Regions from separate parts of the Homo sapiens genome. Here region 2 is linked to region 1. The links are contacts of gene promoters, found by promoter capture Hi-C in blood cells and fetal thymus (Javierre and others, 2016). All regions are on one chromosome and are shown on one strand. The core of a region is centred on a gene start or on the middle of the fragment in contact, and the rest is flanking DNA. Distances in the headings are between cores, read along the strand shown.

Region 1 (3,576 bases), core at 425-2,924:
GGAATTAAGGTTGCAAACAGGATTAGGGTTCTTAATCGGCTGATTTTAAAATAGGGAGATCATGTTGGACTAACCAGCTGGCCCAATGTCATCTTAAGAGTCCTTAAAAGGGCCAGGTGTGGGGAGGTTGAAGCTGCAGGGAGCCGAGATTGAGTCATAGCACTCCAGTTTGGGAGACGGAGTGAGACAAAAAAAAGGCTGGGCAAGGTGGCTCATGCCTGTAATCCCATCACTTTGGGAGGCAGAGGCTGGTGGATCGCTTGAGGTCAGGAGTTCAAGACCAGCCTGGCCAACATGGTGAAAGCCCGTCTCTATTAAAAATACAAAAATTAGCGGAGCGTGGTGGCGGGTGCCTGTAATCCCAGCCACTCAGGAGGTTGAGGCAAGAGAATTGCTTGAACCCAGGAGGAGGAGGTTGCAGTGAGCCGAGATTGCACCACTGGACTCTAGCCTGGGCAACGGAGTAAGACTCCATCGCAGGAAAAAAAAAAAAAAGGAAGATGTGCCTATGGAGAGAGGACTGTCTGAGGTCTGAGAGACTCCACCTGACATTGCAGGCTTGCTTTTCTGTTTTTTTTTTTTTTTTTTTTTTTTTTGAGACGGAGTTTTGCTCTGTCGCCCAGGCTGGAGTGCAATGGCACCATCTCAGCTCACTGTAACCTCTGCCTCCCAGGTTCAAGCGATTCTCCTATCTCAGCCTTCCCAGTAGCTGGGATTACAGGTACGCGCCACCACACCTGGCTAATTTTTGTATTTTAAGTAGAGATGGGGTTTTACCATGTTGGCCAGGCTGGTCTCGAACTCCTGACCTCAGGTGATCCACCCACCTTGGCCTCCCAAAGTGCTGGGATTACAGGTGTGAGCCATTGTGCCCAGCCCATTGCAGGCTTTCACAGAGAAAAGGGGCAGGAGTCAGGCGCGCAGGCAGCTTCTGGAAGTTAGAAAACACAAGGAAACAGATTCTTCCCTACAGCCTCCAGAAGGGAATGCATCCTGCCAACACTTTGTTTTTAGCTCAGCAAGACCTGTGTGGGCCATCGAACCTACAGAACTGAAGGATAATACATTTGTGGGTGTGTGTTTTCAAAGACACTAAGTTTTGGTAACTTGTTACAGCAGTAACTGGAAACTAAGACATGCAACAAGCCTTATTGTTCATTTTTACCACCACTACTGGGCTGTTGGTTATGGTGGAATTACACTTTTCTCTTCCATTAGGCTGTGTGAACTCCTTGAGGTTGTGCAATACGTTTGTCTGATTTACTACTGGTTAGCAGGCTCTGAGAAGAATGGCTGGTACACAGGCGGAGCTCAATAAAAGCCCTTACTGAATTTTATTCAATCTATATGTGGATGAAGACCTCCGCCCCGCGCGCCCCTCCCGCAAGTCCCACTGAGGCCCGACCCATTCTGTCCGGCTCCCAGCCCCCGCGGGTCCCCCCACCCCGGGGCTGACCGGGTGATTCAGGCAGCCCTACATCCTGCTGGGGTGGTGGGCTTCGAGCGCGGGTCCCAGGACGCAGTGGGGCGCAGTGCCTGCGGCAGGCGGCAGGAGGCGAGCGTGGCCCAGGAACTCCCGCGGGAGGGTCGGGACGGGGCGGGGCTTGGGGGCGGGGCGGCTCAGCGCGCAGGCGCGGGGCCAGGCGCCTCGCGCGGCCAGGGGCGGGCGGCCGCAGAGCAGCACCGGCCGTGGCTCCGGTAGCAGCAAGTTCGAACCCCGCTCCCGCTCCGCTTCGGTTCTCGCTCCTTCGGCCCTTGGGCCTCCAAACACCAGTCCCCGGCAGCTCGTTGCGCATTGCGCTCTCCCCGCCACCAGGATGCCGGTAACCGAGAAGGATCTAGCTGAGGACGCGCCTTGGAAGAAGATCCAGCAGAACACGTTCACACGCTGGTGCAACGAGCACCTCAAGTGCGTGAACAAACGCATCGGCAACCTGCAGACCGACCTGAGCGACGGGCTGCGGCTCATCGCGCTGCTCGAGGTGCTCAGCCAGAAGCGCATGTACCGCAAGTACCATCAGCGGCCCACCTTTCGCCAGATGCAGCTCGAGAATGTGTCCGTGGCGCTCGAGTTCCTGGACCGTGAGAGCATCAAGCTCGTGTCCATCGGTGAGTTCTCTGGCCGGGCCCAGGCGCCCACTGTGGTGCCGACCCGCCCCCGCGCGTGCACCCCTGCGGAGGGCGAGGATTTCCCGCAGCGCGCCCCCACCTCGGAGATAAGGGGGAGTCGTCCCCAGGGGTGGGTTATAGGGGGCCTAGACCCCCTCCCCGGTGTCTTCCCCTGGGATGGGACCTGTTGTGATCGCTCCCCGCCATCCGCCCCAGCAGTGCACCTTTGGCTGGCTAAGGGTTGAGGGTTTGGGCTGGGGTCACAGGAGGAGAGGTGGAGTTGTTGCATTTCTCTACACCTGGGGCGCCCCTATGGGAGCTAGGGGACTAGAAACCCTCGTTCGCTGTCCCCGGGGGCGGGCCCTAGGGTCAGATGCTCCGCGGAGTGCTCTCCCTGCTGCGCCCAGGTTGGTGCTCTCAGAGGCAGCTGAATGGGCGTTGGCTCGGAGGCCGGGCCGTGAGACCTGAGGAGGAACCGTTCTCTGCGCCTGGGGCCTCCCTGCCCAGGTGGAGACAGAGACCTGGTACCTTCCCCTGCCGTCGCTGGAATGGGTGTGGGCCCCGAGGTTGCAAGGGTAGGCGCGGGTGTGTGTCCTCGCTCTCTCTGCTCCCAGCTCAGCTCTGGCCGCGCGCCGCAGGTTGAACCCACTCCTTGCTGCCGAAGTTATAATTTAGAGATGGTGGTGGTAACAGTAATTGCTGTCTTGTAGGGAGCCCAACTAGCGTCCACTGTGTACCGTCAGCCTTCTAAGTTATCTCCGTCCCTACGCATCCTGCCATCTGGGGTGAGGCTAGACCCATTTTACAGATAAGGGGGTCCGGAGGGTTAATTGACCTGTCCAAGGTCAGCAAGTAGGGCCCAGCTGAGAACTGAAGGAAGTGGGCAACAGTTAGAAGGAGGCTTTGTTTTCCTCTCCTCTCCCAAACCTACACCAGGGTCTTCCTGAAAGGAGGGAGGGAATTGGTGTCTCTTGCTGGACTGGGCCTTCTGGTCTGGGGAGGAAGAATAAGGATGAAGTCTCCCTTGTGGTCTGAGATAGTTGGAGGCTTCCCAGAGGGCCACAAGGCTACTGATAGTGTGGGCTGTGATGGTAGGGGCTGTGATGTGTGTGTGCATGTGGGCGTTTGTGCAGAGAACGTGTGTACACACATAGCATGTGTGTATAGCATGTGCATATGCAAAGAGTTTGCATGTACACGGAATGTATGCAGAGAATGTGTATCCACCTACACGTGTGTATGGGTGTGTGTATGTGTGTGTGTGTATGTGGGTGGGTGGGTGTGGGTTGGGGCAGAGGAGGGTTCTGGGTCTGGATCTCTTCCTAAGGAGAACCAGGGACTGGCCCTGGCCTGTGATTTGGGTCTCTTCCTGAGGAAACCAGGTCACTATAGTGACCCTAGTGACAGGAAGAAAGGGAGATGGGTGTGGCTGCCAGGACTTTCTCCAGTGGAAAAGGGATTCCCTCT
Region 2 (3,860 bases), core at 104-2,603, 81 kb after region 1:
CATGCACCACCACACCCCGCCAATTTTGTATTTTTAGTAGAGACAAGGTTACACCATGTTGGTCAGGCTGGTCTTGAACTGCTGACCTTGGGTGATCTGCCCACCTTGGCCTCGAAAGTGCTGAGATTACAGGTGTGAACCACGGCGCCCAGCCTTTTTTTTTTTTTTTTTTTTTTGCTGAAGTTTCACTTCTGTTTCACAGGTTGGAGTGCAATGGTATGATCTTGGCTCGCTGCAACCCCCGCCTCTGCCTCCTGGGTTCAAGGGATTCTCCTGCCTCAGCCTCCCGAGTAGCTGAGATTATAGGCATCTACCATCACACCTGGCTAATTTTTGTATTTTTAGTAGAGACGGAGTTTCACCATGTTGGCCAGGCTGGTCTCGAACTCCTGACCTCAGGTAATCCACCTGCCTTGGCCTCCCAAATTGCTGGAATTACAGGTGTGAGCCACTGTGTCCAGCCTAGTTTGGAATTCTTCATAATAAAAAGCTTTTTAAAAAGGTAATATTTGGACTTCTGCTCCTGGGAAGATGGAATAGGACTTTTCCTAATTCTTTCTTCTAACTACAACTAAAACCCCTGGGCTATACATAAGGAAAACACAGGGAGCCTCTGAAAAAGGATGAGGCAGACCAACCAGGGATCTTGGGACTCGAGGAATGACACAGTACTGAGTTCCTTGGGTTTACTTTGCTTTATATATCCCAGACTTGGAGCCAAAGAAAGAAGCTGACAACCTGAAAATGCCAGTGGGCACAAACACAGAAAGTGCCAACAAAAGCTCCCCTGTCCAGCCAGAAGACCAGGAAAGGGCAGCCCAGTGAGGCAGAAAACTTAAAGAGTCACTGCTCTACTCCAGGTCCACACCATAGAAAAAACTATGCAGCCCCACACTTACACCCGCAGAGGTGAATGGGGAGCCTAGGCTTTGACAACAGTCTAGCAATAAGGAAGCCACTCTCCGGGGCCATGGAGGAGCAGTAATGAGGCACTCCTACTTCCTCCAGCCAGAACTCCCACCTTCACGCACCAGTAATGAGCCCCCCAATCTTGAGCATCAGTCGAGGTTGAATGGAGAGCCTAGACTTCTTCCCCCACTGTTAGTAACAAGGTGTGTACCCTTCCCTCCCCTGCCACAGTGGTATCATAAAATGCCAGCTACAACAGAACATTTACAGAAGACCCAGAGTCTCATTACATGATACCCCAAATATCCAGTTTCAAAAAAAAAAAGAAATCACTTGTCATACCAAGAACCAGGAAGATCTCAAACTGAATGAAAAAGACAGTTGATGCCAACACTGAGGTGATAGAGATGTTAGAATCCTATGACAAAAATTTTAAAGCAGCCATTAAAAAAGGCTTCAGTAGCCAGGCGTGGTGGCTCACTTTGGGAGGCTTGTAATCCCAGGACTTTGGGAGGCCGAGGCGGGCAGATCACCTGAGGTCAGGAATTCGATACCAGCCTGACCAACCTTATGAAACCCAGTCTCTACTAAAAATACAAAAAATTAGCCAGGTGAGGTGGTGGGCACCTGTAATCCCAGCTACTCGGGAGGCTGAGGCAGGAGAATCGCTTGAAACTGGGAGGTGGAGGTTGCAGTGAGCTGAGGTCATGCCGTTGCCCTCCAGCCTGGGCAAGAAGAGTGAGACTCCATCTCAAAAAAAAAAAAAAAGGCTTCGGTAGGCAGTTAAGAACAATCATGAAAAAAATGAAAAAATTAAAAATCTCAACAAAGAAATACAATGTCCCAGCAAAATAATAATAAAAATTTAGGAGATAAAAAGAACCAAATGGACATTTTAGAATTGGAAATTGCAGTAACTGAAATAAAAACTTATTGGATAAGCGCAATAGCAGGGTGGAAGGACAGAGAAAAGAATCCTTCAACTGGACAACAATTGGTTGTTTTGTTCTGAGGTGGAGTTTTGCTCTTGTCACCCAGGCTAGAGTACAGTGGAGTGATCTTGGCTTACTGCAACCTCTGCCTCCTGGGTTCAAGCTATTCTCCTGCCTCAGCCTCCCTAGTAGCTGGGCTTACAGGTGCCCACCACCACTTCTGGCTAATTTTTTTATTTTTAGTAGAGACGTAGTTTCACCCTGTTGGCCTGGCTGGTCTTGAACTCCTGACCTTAGGTGATCCACCTCGGTAATCCACCTTAGGTGATCCAAAGTGCTGGGATTACAGGTGTGAGCCACTGGACCCGGCCTCTGTAAGCTTTTTTCTGTGTTTAAAACTTTTCATTTTTGTACTTTTAAAACTTTTTTTTTTTTTTAAACACACACATTAGTCTAGACTTACACAGGGTCAGGATCATCATTATCACTATCTTCCACCTCCAAATCCTGTCCCACTGTCCCACTGGTAGGTCGTCAAGAGCAGTAATGTGTGGAACCGCCGTCTCCTATAATAACAATGCCTTCTTCTAGAATATTTCCTGAAGGACTTGCTTGAGGCTGCTTTACAGTTAACTTAATTTTTAAATAGAAGATGCCCACTCTAAAATATAATGATAAAAAGTATAGCATATTAAATACATAAACCAGTAGCATTGTCATTTATCATCAAGTATTATGTATTGAACATAATTGTCTGTGCTATATATGTTTCTATGGCCGGTAGCCCAGTGGGTTTGTTTATACCAGCATCATCACAAATACATGAGTAATGCGATGCGTTACTGTGACGTCAGTAGGCAACAGGAATTTTTTGGCTCTATTTATAATCTTACGGGACCATCATTGTATGTGTGGACTATTTTTGACTGAAACTTCATTATTTAGCAAATGACTATATTAGCAAATAAAATTGAGCTGTATATAATGAAGAAGTATGCATTATAACCAAGTGGGGTTTATTGCAGGGATGCAAGGCCTCGTTCACTATTAGAAAATCAGTCAACAGCCTGGCTCGGTGGCTCACGCCTGTAATCCCAGCACTTTGGGAGGCCGAGGTGGGCGATGGGCGGATCATGAGGTCAGGAGATCAAGACCATCCTGGCTAACACGGTGAAACCCTGTCTCTACTAAAAATACAAAAAATTAGCTGGGCGTGGTGGTGGGTGCCTGTAGTCCCAGCTACTCGGGAGGCTGAGGCAGGAGAATGGCATGAACCCGGGAGGCAGAGCTTGCAGTGAGCCAAGATTGTGCCACCGCACTGTAGCCTGGGCGACAGAGCGAGACTCCGTCTCAAAAAAAAAAAAAAAAAGTCAAATAGTAAAGATACCACCTCTCCTCAAATTGTCATTCAGGTTTGATGCAATTGCTGTCAAAATCCCAGCAAGAGTTTTTGCAGATAGCAAGATTATTATTTTAAAACCTATATGAAAAGGCAAAGGAATTAAAGTAGCAAAAACAATTTTGAGAAAGAAGTACAACATGGAGGAATCAGCCTTCCTGATTTCAAGACTTGCTGTATAGCTACAGAAGTCCAGATTTTGTAGTATTGGTCAAAGGATAGACATTATAGATCAGTGAAACAGAATTGCAGCCCCACACAAATATGCACAACTGATTATTGACAAAGGTGCAAAGATAAGTCATTGGGGGAAAAAACCTTTTCGGCACATGGTGGCAGAGAAATTGAACATCCCTAGGCAAAACAAAACAAAAGCAAACCCCAAACCAAAAAACAAAAAACCCATATAACTATAAAACTTTGAGAAAAAAACATAGAAGAGAATCTTTGAGATCTAGAGCTAGGCAAATAGTTCTCAGATTTGACACCAAAAACATGATCCATTAAAAAAAAATAAGTTGGATTTCATCAAAATTAAAAACTTTTTAATGTTTTAAGAAGGATGGTCTGTCTCAAAGACTCAACATGGTACATGGTGGTTGGCCTTTATGTGCTGTTGA

The links. Contacts are between HindIII fragments. The CHiCAGO score rates a contact against its expected background, and 5 or more counts as called.
Region 2: a fragment that was not itself captured here is called in contact with the fragment with the promoter of FLNB in region 1 in 1 of 17 cell types (endothelial precursors); the score reaches 7.5 in endothelial precursors.

Annotation. Positions count from the first base shown.
Region 1 is chr3:58,006,748-58,010,323 of GRCh38, forward strand. FLNB (filamin B) reads left to right here and starts at 1,675. Exons shown (of 46, transcript NM_001457.4): 1 at 1,675-2,109. The coding sequence starts at 1,818. The HindIII fragment of the contact is 11,042 bases long and covers 1-3,576 here.
Region 2 is chr3:58,087,885-58,091,744 of GRCh38, forward strand. The region is part of intron 4 of FLNB (filamin B); the gene reads left to right. Among named protein-coding and RNA genes, the nearest start is that of FLNB-AS1, 81 kb to the right of the region's middle. The HindIII fragment of the contact is 1,730 bases long and covers 489-2,218 here.